Linked DNA regions of Homo sapiens: regions 2, 3 and 4 are each linked to region 1. The links are contacts of gene promoters, found by promoter capture Hi-C in human tissues and cell types (Jung and others, 2019). All regions are on one chromosome and are shown on one strand. The core of a region is centred on a gene start or on the middle of the fragment in contact, and the rest is flanking DNA. Distances in the headings are between cores, read along the strand shown. Region 1 holds the start of SAPCD2 (suppressor APC domain containing 2). Region 2 holds the start of PMPCA (peptidase, mitochondrial processing subunit alpha). Region 3 overlaps C9orf163 (chromosome 9 putative open reading frame 163). Region 4 holds the start of ARRDC1 (arrestin domain containing 1).

Region 1 (3,668 bases), core at 371-2,870:
AGGGCCGCCGTGGCTCCAAACACCAGCTGTAGGGCTGGAGAATATGGCTGAGGTGGGGGAGCAGTACAGGGAGGGTGGCAGAGCAGCAGGCAGCACAGGGACCGGCAGGAGCCACCGGTGGGCAGGCCTCCCCTGGCAGAACGGGTGCACAGGCCGAATGGGCTGTGGGGCCTGGGGCCCCTCTGGGAGCTTGGCCCCCCAACCCCAGCCATAATACAGGTCCTGTTCCCAAGGCAGGCACTGGGTTGGGGGAGACAGGGGACCATTCAGCAATCTCCCATCACTGCCAACTGGACCGGAAGGCAGGAGAGGAGTGTGCCAGCCATCCCCAGGGACTACGGCCTATGTCCCTCCATGGCATCTGCCATAGTACAGCCCCACTGGGGTGCAGGAGATCCACCCACGCCCCTGCCCATCTTGGCAACAGGGCCAGGTCCTCTTGGGCCACCAGCAGCAGCCCCCGCCTGCCTAGGCCTCAGTGGGGTCAGTGGGCCCAGCCCCCCTGGCTAAGCTGTCACACTGAGAAGGGGGACCCTTTCTTTGAGAAGGAAGCACTTCTGCCTGAGCAGCCACAGACAGGAGGCTGAGGGCCCAGGTGTCCCCAGGTGCGGAAAGGGTATTGGAGATGGAGAGCCCAAGCTCAGGCTTGGTACAGGTTGGGCTCCCGGTGGGTTTTCTGAGTCACCTGCCACCCCCCGGCCCTGGTGGCCTTATGCTGTGGCAGGAGAGGGTCTGGCTTGCCTCCCTAAGCAAGCCCCTGGGCTCACCGCGACAAGCATGAAGCCCTTTCCCTCCAGACCCGCCGAGGCGCCCTCCAGGATCCGGAGTCCACGAAGAGCCGCTCCCCGGTCCCGTCCCTTGTGGGAAATGCACGGGCAGCAGCTGTGGGACTGCGGTTTCTGGCCCGGGCCCGGGAGAGCTACGAGGGTGCCCGGGGGCCGTCCGGAACTCACCTGCGTCCGCGCTGGAGCTCGGTTCCAGCGCCGCGCTCTGGGACCGCTCGGGCTCCGCGGGGCAGGGCGCCGCCTCAGCCGGGGCGCACAGCTGCTCCGGGCTGCGGGCGGCGGCGCTGGGACCGGCCAGAGGGGCGCGCACGCCCAGGGGCAGGGGCTTCCTCTCCAGGACCGTCCGCGGCTCGTCGGCCGGAGCGAACACCAGGCGCTGCGGCGGCGGCGGCGGCTGATCCCCGGGCCGGGCCGGGGCGCGCGTGGGGTCCCGGGGGCCGCCGTCGGCGCTCAGCAGGGAGGTGCGCAGGCCGGCCACGAAGCGCTCGAAGGTCAGGTAGCCGCTGGCCGGGGCCACCTGGCGCAAGCCCTCCAGCACCCCGCGGGGCAGCTCCCGCGCGTCGGTGCCCTGCCAGCGGGACTCGATCTCGCGCAGGTGCACGCAGCCGCGCCGCCGGTCGTCCAGGATGTCGAACAGGGTGCGCAGGCTCTGCAGGAAGGCGCGCGGCAGCCCCTCCGTGCTGGGCGCGGGTGCGGGGGGAGGCACGCGGCCCCGCTCGGCCATGGCGGCCCCGGCCATGGGCGCCCGGGATCGGTCCCCTCGTCCACCCGCGTGCGTCCCAGCGCGGCCCCACGGAGGGGCCGGCCCGGCGAGCTCAGCCCACGGCGACAATAGCGACTACTTTTGAATGGGGCCCTCCTCGCGGCGTCAGCCCTCATTAACATGCGCCGCGGCCATTGGCCGAGCCCGTCCCATCTGCTCTCTGATAGGCTGAGAGGAGGTTTGATTTTTTTTTTTTTTTTCTTGCCGAGTGGCCCTGGGAGGCGCGCGGAGGCCCTGGGCAGGCGGAACCGGATCCCCCAGCTCCTGCTCCACTCTGGCCTCGCAGACCTTCCTTTCTGCCCCGCCCCAGCCCCACCAAACCTCCTGCCGCGGCCAGGCGCTTTCTCGGATCCAGCTGTGGCTGGCTGCCCCGGCCACCTCTCCAAGGGGCGGGGCCTGGCACCCTACAAAAAAACCTGTCTCCAGGTAGCCTCGTGGGGTAAGAATGGGGGGGGGCACCCCCTCCAAAGATCCCACTTTTCCCCTCTAGTTCCCTGGCCGCAAGCACAGGTGACCCTGCGGCCCCCTTCTCTTCCACCAGGAGGGCCCCAAGAGGATCGTAGGCTCCAGCCAGCTGGGCGCTTCCCACTCACAGAGGCCTTTCTGTCCCCACTGCTGCTGGCTCCTCCTCTGGTCCCTCGGGACAGTCTGGCCTGGCCTGCCTGCTGCAGAACAAAGCCACTTTCTCCTGTGTCCCCAGATCCCCATCTAGTGACCAGCTCCCTCTGCCTCTTGCTCTCCTCTCCTCCTTCCCCTGGCTGGACACCTCCTCCAGCTGCTCTCCTGGCTCCCGCAGCCCTGTCCCCCTGCCTCTGCTGTGTTTCCAGCTGGGATCTGGTCACTCTGTCTTCATTTGGTCTGTCCACATGGGAGGTGAGACCAGGCCTTAGCCTGGGTTCTAGCCCTGGGAGCCCATCTCAGGGCTGGCCAGTAGTACCCTCTAGGTTCCAGGGAGGTGTTCAGGGTGCAAACACCCTCCCCAGACAGGCCCCCAATCCGAGACTTGCCTTGGCCCTCTGCGGGTCTCCCACCCTCCCTCCTGGGCAGGCCTCAGCTGGCATACCTACCTGGGTCTCTGTCCTCAGGCCTGAGCCACTGGTGCCTGTGTCTCAAGCTGTAGAGGCATCTTCCCAGGCCAGGGAGTATCCTGGGTCCACTTCTCTTCTGGGTCACTCACTCTAAGTGGGACTCCTTCATCGTAGGGAATGCTGGAAGGACATAAGAAGCTCTGAGCCTGGAGCAGCCCATCAGAGCTTGGTCCTGTAAGCCAGCTTCCCCTTTAATGGCTGGTCTGCTCAAAAACCCAGCACGAGGCCGAGGCGGGAGGATCACTTGAGCTGGGGAGTTCAAGACCAGCCTGGGCAACATAAGGCAACCCTATTTCTACAAAAAGTTTAAAAAATTAGCCAGGCGTGGTGGTGCATGCCTGTGGTCCCAGGTATTTGGGAGGCTGAGGTGGGAGGATCCCTTGAACCCAAGAGGTTGAGGCTGCAGTGAGCTGTGATTGAGCCACTGCTCTCCATCCTGGGTGACAGAGCGAGATCTTGTCTCAAAAACAAAACAAAACAAAACAAACCAGCACAACACGCAAGCCCCCGCCCCCCCATCCCCACACCTACCCTGCTTCCAGCACACCCCTCACCGCCAGTGCCAGGCCTGGGGTCCCTGCACTCCCTCACTTCCAGGCCCCTGTGCCTGGTGGCTCTTCTACCAGGAAGGCCCTTCCCCTCTGCTCCAGGCTGACCGCACTACATCCTTCAGAACTCTGCTCTGGCCCCAGTCCCCTTCCCCCTGAAGCCTAGTTAGATAAAACACAGGGGACAGCTTTCTCCTGGCCCAGGGGGCCCTGGCTATTTGCAAGCAGGACAGGGCTCCTTCTAGGCCTGGCATTGGCCTGGCCCACAGTGGGTGCTCTGTGAATGGCACTGGGGAGCCGTATCCAGTGAAATCATATGGGAAACACCATCCTTGAGTGGGCACCAAGCCAGGCTGAGGCCTAAGGGATGGGGAAGGGCTGGGAACAGCTCAGTGGTATGGCAGGGGAGGCCAGTGTGGATGTGGAGTCGGTGGCCAGCAGTGAGCAAGGCTGCTGCAGCTCAGGACAGCGTGGCCAGCAGTGT
Region 2 (3,668 bases), core at 987-3,486, 660 kb before region 1:
CAAAAAATTAGCCAGGCGTGGTGGTGAGCGCCTGTAGTCCCAGCTACTCGGGAGGCTGAGGCAGGAGAATGGCGTGAACCTGGGAGGTGGAGCTTGCAGTGAGCCGAGATCGTGCCACTGTACTCCAGCCTGGGCGACAGAGCGAGACTCTGTCTCAAAAAACAACAACAACAACCAGCTCCTCAGGTGCTGCAACGCTGGGGACCCAGTGCCCCCTGACCCTCTTCCCGACTTTCCTACCTAGGTAGCCTAAATAACGCCCACTTTTCCCTTCTCCCTCTTGCCACCGCCTTCCCACCCTCCGGGGACTTAAGCAGCCACACTCGACCCTCCCAGCTGTGAGCCCCATGTAAAGCTGGCTCCTGTGGCCCCAGCCCCCCAGGTGGGGCTTCCCCGCTCCCTGATGTCACCTCGCTGCTACTCTAGGATCAAGACTGAACCCTTGAAATCCCACCCCCACCTGCTCTTTTGGGCTCCAGCTACACCACATAGCCAGTCACATTGACAGTCCCACCAGACACGTGCCTGGCACTGTGTTGGATGGAGACAAGAAGAAAAGGTTGCTGAACTACTCTACCTCCAAAATGTGTCCCGTGGGCTCCTGACGGGCTCTGCTTAGAACATTTCCCCTTTCCATAGCCAAAATCTGCAAAGAAACAATGTCACCCACCATGCTGGCAGGAAGTCTTTATGACCTCACATTTGGTTTTTTTCTTTTGCACATGGAGTCTCCACTGCAGTGGTTCTCACAGTCTAGAGAACTTTTTTTTTTTTTTTGAGACGGAGTCTTGCTCTGTCGCCCAAGCTGGAGTGCAGTGGTGCGATCTCGGCTCCCTGCAAGCTCCGCCTCCTGGGTTCACGCCATTCTCCTGCCTCATCCTCCCGAGTAGCTGGGACTACAGGCACCTGCCACCACGCCCGGCTAATTTTTTTGTATTTTTTGTAGAGACGGGTTTTCACCCTGTTAGCCAGGATGGTCTCAATCTCCTGACCTCATGATCCGCCTGCCTCGGCCTCCCAAAGTGCTGGGATTACAGGCGTAAGCCACTGCGCCCGGTCAGCCGAGAAAACTTTAAAAAAAACACAAGCTCCCAGACTTGTGACCCTGGAGATGGCCTGACTTGCAGACTGGCCCTGGTGTCCGTGGTCTGAAAGCGGCTCCTCAGCAGATTTTGAAGCCCAGCCGGGGCAAGCGCGTCCTCTTGTCTTGTGACAACCCCCGAATGTCCTCAGATCCTGGCATAACCACACAAACACTCCTGCACACCCCGGGCACCCAGCAGCACTTCTGCTTGGGTAGAACGAGGACGAACCAGATCTGGCCACTGCCCGGCTGTGGAGGCAGATGGAATGCTCCAGCTCGGTTTCCAATCACTGCCCACTAGGTGAAGGCACCCCGACTCCAGCCCCACGAGGAAAGCGGGCGGGCTCCTGTGCTCCCCGGGCACTAACCATCCTGTACTGGAACTGTCTGTCTTGGGGGAGGTCTCCCCGCAACCAGACTGTGAGCTCCTAGCAGGGGACTCCGCCTTTGAATTCCGAGTGCCTGGCACGCAGTGAGCGCTCTGCACATTGATGGGTCAATGGACGAGCTCGTGCTGCAGCGGAGGTGCCACACGTGGCGCGGGAACTGGAAGCGTCCCCGGGGCCGGCGCCCTCGTCTCTCACCTGTGTCTCCCACGGAAGCCAGCACCGGGCTGGGCACATAGCACATAAAGGCCGGCCGAATGCCGAAGAAGGGGGAGTCCAGGTCCCTGCCATGGGGGCGCTCACAATTTAGCTGGGGGAGACAAGACCGGCGCTCATAGAACGCTGGAGCTGGAAGCAACGACAACAGCGACTTTACTGCGTGCCGGGGCGGCCGCCGCCCACCTGGACCGCTGGACTCGGCCCCTGCCCCGCTCACCGTCGGGAATGGCGAGGCTCCGGGCTCGGGACAGCGGGGTGGCGCCCGGGCGGCGCTGGTAGCCCGACATCGCCGCCGGCCCGGCGGGGCACGACCTGCCTAGCCCGGCAGCGGCGGCTCCATGGCCCCGGCTCCGCCCGTGCCGCGGCCCGCGTCGCCCGCCCCCGTCGCCCGCCCCCGTCGCCCGCCGCTCGGCCGCCCCCGCGCCTCCGAGCCTCTCGCCGCTGCTTCCGCTCCGAGCACCGAAAGCGCGTGCCTGAACGCCTTGGGCCGTCGGCGAGGGGGAGGGGAAGCCGTGGGCGGAAGCGGAAGTGACGACTGAAGCGGGGCGGAGACGCAAGATGGCGGCTGTGGTGCTGGCGGCGACGCGGTTGCTGCGGGGCTCGGGTTCTTGGGGCTGTTCGCGGCTGAGGTGAGCCAAAGGCGAACCAGGCTTCGGCCTGGGGCGGGGGCGGCTCGAGTCTTTCTGGACGCTCCGTCTTCGGTTTCTACAGGTGACATGGCGCCCGTGGGACGGGCTCGCACTTCGGGACACTGGTGTCCCCGAGGCGACGGGGGCCCTGCCTTGCTTTGCGCCTCGAGCCCGGGGACGCAGTCCCATCTGTCTCTCCTCTCCCCGGCTGCTGGGTCCTCTCCCCCCCTCACTTCCCGGGTCGACGGGCCTTCTCCGAGGCCATGCCTCATATTTGCCCCCGCGCTTCACCTACCGCGTGCTCCTTCAGGAGGCTGAGCCGGTGGGGGCCCAGCTCTGTTAGACCCGCAGGGTTCTGACACCAGGGTCCAGGCTCTCGGTTGCTGCGGTCTGTCCGTTGATCTCTGACGTTTAAGAACCCTTTCCGTACCCACCGCTCCTCCCACCCAAGTGACCGGGCCTGCCTTTCCCCACGCTGGAACTTTGTTCCGACAGCACAGGCGTCGCCCCTCCCCACACAACGAGCGCCGTTTCAGGGGTGCGGAGGTGCTGCCTCCAGGAGATGGATACAGGCTGGAGCGTAAACAAAATATCGGCAGTCGCGTAAATGCTTTGGAGTAAACAAGCAGCCTTTCATGATAGAAAATAGCAGGAAAGACTAGACTGGTGAGGGATAGTCCTCCATCAGGGTGACATTTAAGGGAAGAGCTGAAGAATGAAAGAAGGGGTAGGCATGGGCAAAGGGCAAGCCCTGGAACGGTGAAGAAGCTTTGGGGTTGATGAGTCAAATGTGTTCCAGGAATTGACAAGAATCAGTGTGACCAGGACCTATGGGAGTGTGGGGGTTCAAGAGATGAGTTTGGAGAGGGAGACAGAGGCCAAGTCACACCCCGCCTTCGGACCAGGTTAATAAGGGATATGGCTTTTATCCAAGACTTCGGTGGTGCTGTTGGAGGGCAGAGCTGTTAAGTGCTTTATGTGTACAAACTGCACTTAGAGTGAGTTACTGTTAATAAGCCCTGTTTTTACAGAGATAGCAACTAAGACCCAAAGGACGGAACCAGCTTGCTCCAGGTCCCGTGGCTGAGCCTTTGTTGTCAGCCTCTGCTTTGTCTTCCAAAGTCTGTAGAAATAAGTCCTGTAGAAAGGCAGATGCTCACTTTTAACCCAGACAAAACATAACTAACCGCACCTAACAGGTCATCACAGGTTTGTTGTCTCAAGCCTGTTGTAACTGGGCCGCTTTCTCTGTTTTAGGTTTGGACCTCCTGCGTACAGACGGTTTAGTAGTGGTGGTGCCTATCCCAACATCCCCCTCTCTTCTCCCTTACCTGGAGTACCCAAGCCTGT
Region 3 (3,668 bases), core at 720-3,219, 580 kb before region 1:
TCTTCCGTTGGGCTGGGAGGCTGGAGGGCAGGCGGCGGCGGCCGCGCATGCGCCGGGAGCGGCCGGAGCTGCGGGACGCGGAGGGCCGACTGCGCCTGCGCGCTGGTTGCCTGGTTACGGCGTGGCCGCGGGCACCGAGCGGCGCCGGAAGTTGGTCGATGGCTGCCGCCAGTCCCTGGCCAGCGTCCTGGGGTTTCCCCGACGCATCCTCTACTGTCCCTTCGCTCTGCACAGAGGCCCGGGCAGGGAGGGGCGGCCCGGCCACCGCGCGGAGCCGGGTGTCCGCCGACTCGCAAGGGGGACGCGCGGGCTCCTCGTCCCCAAGCTCCGCCCTGCGCCTTTGCTGCGCCGGGCCCTCCCAGGCCCACCCTGGCCCCAGCCCTGCTGTCCTCCCGGGGAGGTGCGGCCTACTCGGTTCGTTCCCCCGGCCGCCAGCCCCACAGGGGCGCTGGGGTCCCAGCCTTGGCTGAGTGCACGTCGGTGGCGAGTGGGCCCGGGCGCTCGGGCGGCCAGAGCGACCCAGCGGAGGGGTGAGGCGGGTAGGCGCTCCTGTGCCTGCCACGGCCAGGCCAGGCAGCATCCACGCCCTCCCGCGGAAGATCGCAGGGAACAGGTGGGCACTATCCTCTGTGCCCTCATTTTTCGGAGGAGCCGAGGGAGGCTGAGCGGTTGAGGAAGCGGCCAGCCATGCCGGGCCCACTCACCTGCACACCTGCCTGGCAAGGGCAGGGAAGAGCCGCGGCCTTCCTCTGCTGCTCCTTCCAGAGGGCAGGCGCCGTGGTGGGGGTGCCCGCCCGATGGCATCGCGGGAGGCTGAGCTCCCAGCAGCGGCTGAGGTCCTCCCTGGGTGGGAGCCACCCTTGTCCCCAGCTGGGCCGGCGGCTGGTGAGGGAGGGGGTGATATCCGTGCCACGCCAGCAGGGCCGCAGGCGGTGCAGGGAGAGCTTCAGTCCGGCTGACGTGGCACCAGGGCCAATCTGCTCAGCTAACATTTGCCTTTCAGGAGTCAGATTCCTGACCTGTTTGAACAGAGTTAGGGAGCACGTGGTAGGGCCCAGCCCCAGCCCCGCTGCCCCCATCTGCTTCTTCCCAGTGGTCGAGGCGCTCTGCACCCTCCGCGGAAGGAGGTGTCATTGTTTGCCCTTTCCAAAGAGGGGGATGCAGAGGTGGATGCTGCCTCTCAGGCGTGGGGCTCGCCTTTTGCCGCTCGCGAGTTCAAAGAACCCAAGAGCCAGGAGCCCAGGGCTCGACCCTCTAGGGTCCTCCGAAACCCTGTGGTCCCACCGGGGTGGGCACTAAGCTATGGGAGAGACCATAGCTGCAGAAACCAACCCTGCCCTAGGCATAAAATGCAAGGTCTCTGGACCTCAGGGCAGGGATGTTAGACAGCGGCTTCTGTTGGCTCCTAGGGGTGTGAATCACCACATCACCTGCAGGGGGCGCGGCTGTCTTTCTTCCCCCTCTTCTCCCTAATCCTGAGTGCACGGAGACAGCTCTCAGCAGTTTGTAGCCTGATGTGGAGTGGAGGGTTCCTGCACCCTACACCCGAGCCCATCCAGCCTCTGGGCCATAGACCCTTCCGTTGAAGGCCCAGCCTGCCCCTGAGACGCTGTGTGCCCTTTTTCAACTTCCTTAGTCTCTGAGCATCAGGTCTTCATCTCTAAGATAGAGCAAGATGAGCACCTAAACGTTTCAGGGCTGAAATGGGGTTGCCAGGACAACAAGCATGGCAGGGGCGAATGGGGACATCAGGTGACTGACTGCGAGCCAGCAGAGGCCTCCACCCAGTGCTGGGAGGTGTCCCGCCGGTGGTGGCCATCACTATTCCTGGTGGGGCTTTGCTGCTTTTGCCTGCAGCATCCGCTGGTTTCTCCATTCTCCAAGTCTCTGCCCCTGCTCACACCTGGAGGCTGGACACAAGTGTCACCACTTCCCTGAACCCCCCTAGGTGGGCTGGAATCAGCATCTGGTGCAAAGCTCTGTGACCACTGCTGTACCACATTATGCAGAGCACACAGGACAGGCTGGTGCACCTCCAGGCTGTGCCAGGAAACCCGCTGCCTTTGCGTCACCACAGCCTTGGTCACAGCGTGACCTTGGTGCCTCCGACGGGTCAGCTCCTCCCATTAGCCATGCTGTCCAGCACGGGGGCCGCTGGTGCTTGCTGTGAGACTGAGCTGGGCTCTGAGTGTAAACTACATGGTAGGTTGTGAAGGATGCAAATATCGAATCAATCATTTTTTATTGCATATTAAAATGACAATATCTTGGATGTATCAGATTAAACAAAATACTATTTAATTTTATTTCACCTGTTTCTTTTGTTTTTGACATAGCTGCTGGGAAATGTAAAACTCCACATGGGGCTGGTGTTACATTTCCACTGGACAGTGTTGGTCTAGAAGGCAGGCACTCAGCACCCCTAGCCTGTGCTTATAGCCTCCTATGATAGGGGCCTGAAATGCCAGAGGCTGATGGGTGGACCTGGCTCTTTGCTGACAACTGGCGGGCCAGTGGCGGTCCTCCAGGGAGCCCCCAGCAGAGCAGCAGTCTCAGTGAACGCAGGACGGCCCCTCACTGTGAGCTTCTGCTCCTCTTTCCTACCTGGTGTAAAATAGCAGTGGCGAGTATGTCTGGGTGCTTGTGGAGGTTTACTGGGCAGGCCTGCTCCCTGCCGGACACTGTCCTCAGCCCCTGACACAGACCCTTAGTCCTGGACGCTGAAGCTGGAGGCTTGGCCTGGAGAGAGGAAGGGGCAGTCTCTGTGAGACGGTTAGCTGGGTGGTCCAGGCAAAAAAACATATGAAGGCCTCCAAGGTGGAGAGCACTGACACGGAGCTCTTCCTGGAGGAGGAGGGAATAGGGCTGGGAAGCTGGAATCAGGGGAGAGGAAGCAGATCTGGAGGCAGGGTCCGTAGAGTTTGTTCTGTGGCGTTTGTTCATCAGGCCCCTGCAGGGGTTCCCTGTCAGCATGCCACCAGGCTGGCCAGAGGGTGGGCCAGGCTTCCTCTTCTTACCCTCATAGAGGAGAGGAAGTCACCTCTGTGAGGGGAAGGCCAGACCCCCAGGGCCATGGTGGGCAGTGTGGAGGGAGCTTCAGTCCCACTCACTTCCATGCACAAGGCCTGCCAAGCACACAGCATAGGGTCCGCAAACATGCTCACCACGCTGCCACCCCCTTCCCGTGTTCTACTCACCTCTGAGCCCCACCCTAACCTGGAGTGCTCGCCCGGTGTGCTCGCCAGGGGTGTGCAGCGAGACAGCACTGTCCACTTTCTAGGCCTTCCCAGGGCTGACATGAGGCTGAAGGTGCATCCCCGCCCTGGCACATGTGCCCTTGCTCTCGGCTGCTGGGGAATGGGTCCCACAGCGCCTCCTCCCAGCACAGGCAAAGGCATCTCCTTTTGGGCGCCCACCTGGCTAGCAGAGCACAGGTAAGATGGCTCCAGCAATGGTGGGCTAACTACCGTGTGTCCAGCTGTACTGCAAGCTTCCAGAAGTCAGAGACCCTCAGCCACTACCCAGGTGTTCAGCCTTGGGCAAGCTACCTGGCCTTTCCAAGCCTCTGCCTCCTCCCCTGTAAAAGAAGGTGACAGCCTTGCCCTTTCCCGGCCTCCTGCAAGGACTTCCTGGACCTGACCTCACAGGGTGGCAAGCGTATCCTCCAC
Region 4 (3,668 bases), core at 532-3,031, 540 kb after region 1:
CCAAAGTGCTGGGATTAGAGGTGCGAGCCACCGCGCCCGGTGAAACACCTTCTTTCTGACTTCTGGCATGGCCGACTGCCATTCGGGAGGGCTGTCCACAATCCTTGCCATCCCATGGCACCCTTCTCTCTTGTTCGGGAATTCTGCCTGTGCATAGCCTTGGCAGGAAAGTGTCTGGAGCATGGCCAGTTAGACCCACCTCCGGAAACATCGGAATCCTAAGGGAGTGAGCTGGGCCTGGGGCTTCAGGGCCTCTCCCAGCCTGGCCCGGGGGCCCCTCCAGCCTGTGAGCCCCTTTCTCTTTGCTGGGGTGCCAGACTCCTCCTCCCTGACCTGTTACCTTCTACCAACTAGGGATGGCAACATTTTAGTGCTTGACTCCCAGGCTCATGCACGGAAGTACTTGGTCCATTGGGGATCAGTGGCACCTCAGACTCTGCATGTGATGACCCTCCCACCCCCAAACCATGTGTATCTAGGTCCGTCCTCCCCATCAGAGAAGGCCACCCTCTTCACCGGCTGTCCTAGAAAAACTCGCAGCACTGGGGCCCGCACACCCACTCCGTGGTGAGCTGGTCCTTGTCGAGCGACGCCTTCCCTCTCCAGGACTACCCAACCGGTCTCTCCCGCCTTAGGTCCCCTGGGTATTTGAGTCCCACCCCCCGCGGCTCACTCTCTACAAAGGGACCCTTTAAAAAAGATAAATGGGAGTGTGTTCCTCCTGGTTTCAAGTGATCCAAGTCCTCGCCCCACCTGGCCCCCGACCCTTCTGCTGCGGACCCCTGCCCAAGGGCCTCCGCCCAAGTGTGGCTCCCTTGGGCCCACACCCCATCAGGCCAGCAAGGAGGGGGATAGCGGGGGGCGGGGCAGGTGCTGGGACTCCGGGCAGGTGCGGGGAAGGCAGGGGGCGGGGGGGGAAGGGGTTGGGCGATGCAGGTGTTGGGGGCCGGGACAGTTGCGGGGGTAGGCAGGTACCGGGAAGGCGGGAGGGCGGGCAGGTTCCGGAGGGGCGCGACAGGTGCTGGGACGCGAGGTAGGTGCGGAGAAGGTTGGGGGTGCGGGGCAGGAGCCGGGGGTGGGGGTTGAGGCGGGGCAGGTCCTACGCGGCGGAGCATCCCCGCCCAGGACGCCCGCGCGGCCCCGTGACGTTTTTCCGCGACTCGGGGTGAGGGAGACCCCTGGGCGGGACGGGCGGAGGGTGGGGGCGGAGGAGTGGGTTCTGCCCGCAGCAGAGTGCAGCGGGGAGACCTTCCCAGTCTCAGAGCTCGCCTCGGCCCCGCCCCCAGCCCTGCCCCCCGACGGAGACGCGGCGGTGACTCCCTCCGTGGGGGACGCACGGGACGCTTGCGCCTCAAGTCCCTTAAGCGGCGCCCGACGCAGCGCAGCACCTACCCAGCCGGGACAGGGCCAGGGCCGGGGATGGATGAGCGCGGCCGGGGGGCGGGGCAGGGGTGGGGCGGCCGAGGCAGGGGCGGAGCTGGGAAGGCGAGGCAGGGGCGAAGGGCGGGGGCGGGGCGAGGAGGCTGTCAGAGGGGCGGGGAATAACGAGGGGGCGGGGCCACACGGACGGATGGGGCGGGGAATAGGGGCTGGGCCGGGCCTCCGAGCGGCAGTCCGCGGGCTACGGGGCGGCCGGGGGGCTGGGCGGGGCCGTGGGGCGGGGCAGGGCCTGGGAGGGGCCGGATGGGGGTGGAGGCCGGGATTGGGACGGATGGGGGCGGGGCATAGGAGGGGGCGGGGCCGGGCCTCGGAGCCGGGACTCGCGGGCGGCGGGCGGGGGCGTCGCTGCGCGGCTGGCCGGTGAGGCCGCGGCATGGGGCGAGTGCAGCTCTTCGAGATCAGCCTGAGCCACGGCCGCGTCGTCTACAGCCCCGGGGAGCCGTTGGCTGGGACCGTGCGCGTGCGCCTGGGGGCACCGCTGCCGTTCCGAGGTGGGCGCGGGTCCTCGGGGAGGGCCTTTGGCCGCACCTGCGCGGGGCCAGGGCTCCCGGAAGCGGCTGCCGTCGCCTGGCCCCGGGTTGGGCCCGCGGAGTCGCTGTCTTCGCCGCCCGGGACTGCTGGGAAGCGGGCTCGGCGGCGCCGGGGAGGTCCGGGCGGCGCCGCCCTTCCGCGTCTGCCCTTCCTGCCCTCTCGCCGAGGGGCGGCGGGGTCCCGGCGGGGCCTGAAGCGGGTCCACTGTGGAGGACGCCCTGAGCGCGGGCGCACGCAGGCCTGCGACCCTCCCCGTCCGCGCTCGCACCTGCTGGGCTCCTTCCCGCACCCTGGCTCCCGGCGCAGGCGCTCCCGCTGCAGAGCCGCTCCTGGCGCGGGCGTGCGGTCCCGGCGGGGTGCAGACACCTGCTGCGGCTCCCTGCGCCCCCTGCCACCCGCCAGCAGGCCTCGCCGGCCCCCCGCCGAGGTGGACGCCTGGGCCTCGGGGACTGGGTATCGGGTTGCTGCAGTGGCCGCTGGCAGGGCGCCCTGGAGGTGAGGGCCGGCCCGCGAGGTGAGGCTGCCTCTGCCCGGCCCTTGGCTGTGAGTGCCGCGTCCCTGCCGGGGACTTCTCTACCTTGGCCTCCTGTGGGAACCACCTGGGCTGCTTGGCCTGTGCCACAGCCCCTGGACTTGCCGCTGGACCTTGACCGCTGGGCCCGCGCGTGGGTAACAGCACCGATTTTGTGCCTGCTGAGAACCCACAGTCTCTGTTCTGTCCTCTCAGCCTCCTGGGACAGGTGATGGTGCTGTGGCCCTGACCCTGCACCGCCTGAGGCTGTGGGGCCTCGGAAGAAGCCGGGTGGTAGGTGCTTCTGTCAGGCTCCTGGCCCCACTGGGCCTCCTGGGATGACCCCACAGCCTCCCTTCCTCTGTCCCAACCTTGAGTTTGGGGTCTGGGTGGGGGCAGGTGTGGCCGTGGCAGGGCAGAGATAGCACACACATCTCTTGGGTACAGGTGTGGTGTGTGGTGAGGCCGGCTGGATCCTGGTTGAGGGCTGTGCAGGACCCTGTCGTCCTTCCCCTGGCGTGGCCTGGGGTGAGCAGGCCATTGCTTACCACAGGGAAGGGACGGCCCCGCGGTGCGTGACTGGCCTGGGTGTGCAGGCTCCCCTGGCCTCCGGGTGGACGTGGTGGGTGGGTTGAATGCTCACGCCTGTAATCCCAGCACTTTGGGCAGCTGGCCCAAGAGCCGAGGGAGCACTGGCTGATGGTCCTACCTCACAGAGGCTGGTCTGAATGAGGGAGAAAAAGGAGGGTCGTGAGCTAAGGAGTAGGAGATGGGCCCTGATGGGCCAGAGAGCACATGATTCAGGCTGCTGCAAGTGAGGTGGGAGGGTGTACCGGGGCCCCCGGGGGTTTCCCCCAGCCCTGCCTGGGATGGGAACAGAAGGACCATGGTTTCTTTTCCTCATTCAGAGGATGCTTGTCAATCCTGCTAGGAGCCAGTAGGGAGGCCCTCAGCCCCCAGGAGGACAGCAGCCCTGCCTGGGCCCCAGAGCTTGCTCACTTACTCTGCCGATGAGTGTCGGTGACAGTCAGCACCCAGCCGTGAGGACACCGGCTGTCTAAAGGGCTGACGCGGAGGGAGGCCTGGGAGGGAGCAGTTTTCTGGAGCTCAGGCTGGCCCAGTCCAGGGCTGGGGTTCAGGCAGGACCACTTCTTGTTCTGCTGTTACTGGGATGGGCGACCAGGGC

Evidence for each region. Contacts are between HindIII fragments. The study calls those that stand out against the background at their distance.
Region 2: a contact is called between the fragment with the promoter of PMPCA here and the fragment with the promoter of SAPCD2 in region 1, in 1 of the 25 tissues and cell types used here (lymphoblastoid cells).
Region 3: a contact is called between a fragment that was not itself captured here and the fragment with the promoter of SAPCD2 in region 1, in 1 of the 25 tissues and cell types used here (spleen).
Region 4: the fragment with the promoter of ARRDC1 here is called in contact with the fragment with the promoter of SAPCD2 in region 1 in 1 of the 25 tissues and cell types used here (lymphoblastoid cells).

The regions. Positions count from the first base shown.
Region 1 is chr9:137,068,937-137,072,604 of GRCh38, forward strand. SAPCD2 (suppressor APC domain containing 2) reads right to left here and starts at 1,621. Exons shown (of 6, transcript NM_178448.4): 1 at 954-1,621. The coding sequence starts at 1,524. RefSeq lists silencers at 949-998, 1,049-1,098, 1,269-1,678 and an enhancer at 1,783-2,762. The HindIII fragment of the contact is 19,800 bases long and covers 880-3,668 here.
Region 2 is chr9:136,408,422-136,412,089 of GRCh38, forward strand. PMPCA (peptidase, mitochondrial processing subunit alpha) reads left to right here and starts at 2,237. Exons shown (of 13, transcript NM_015160.3): 1 at 2,237-2,318; 2 at 3,576-3,668. The coding sequence starts at 2,248. It overlaps ENTR1 (endosome associated trafficking regulator 1), which reads right to left and starts at 2,193. Exons shown (of 10, transcript NM_001039707.2): 1 at 1,907-2,193; 2 at 1,669-1,818; 3 at 578-646. The coding sequence starts at 1,976. RefSeq lists enhancers at 1,296-1,455, 2,306-2,395, 2,426-2,475 and silencers at 1,816-1,865, 2,006-2,095. The HindIII fragment of the contact is 13,229 bases long and covers 1-3,668 here.
Region 3 is chr9:136,483,762-136,487,429 of GRCh38, forward strand. C9orf163 (chromosome 9 putative open reading frame 163) reads left to right here. Exons shown (of 1, transcript NR_172629.1): 1 at 1-2,306. It also overlaps a transcript of SEC16A not described here. Among named protein-coding and RNA genes, the nearest start is that of C9orf163, 2.1 kb to the left of the region's middle. RefSeq lists an enhancer at 1-662 and a silencer at 1-391. The HindIII fragment of the contact is 3,851 bases long and covers 45-3,668 here.
Region 4 is chr9:137,603,905-137,607,572 of GRCh38, forward strand. ARRDC1 (arrestin domain containing 1) reads left to right here and starts at 1,782. Exons shown (of 8, transcript NM_152285.4): 1 at 1,782-1,931. The coding sequence starts at 1,814. It overlaps LOC124902318 (a long non-coding RNA gene), which reads right to left and starts at 1,434. Exons shown (of 3, transcript XR_007061885.1): 1 at 1,393-1,434. RefSeq lists silencers at 1,044-2,173, 2,184-2,453. The HindIII fragment of the contact is 21,275 bases long and covers 1-3,668 here.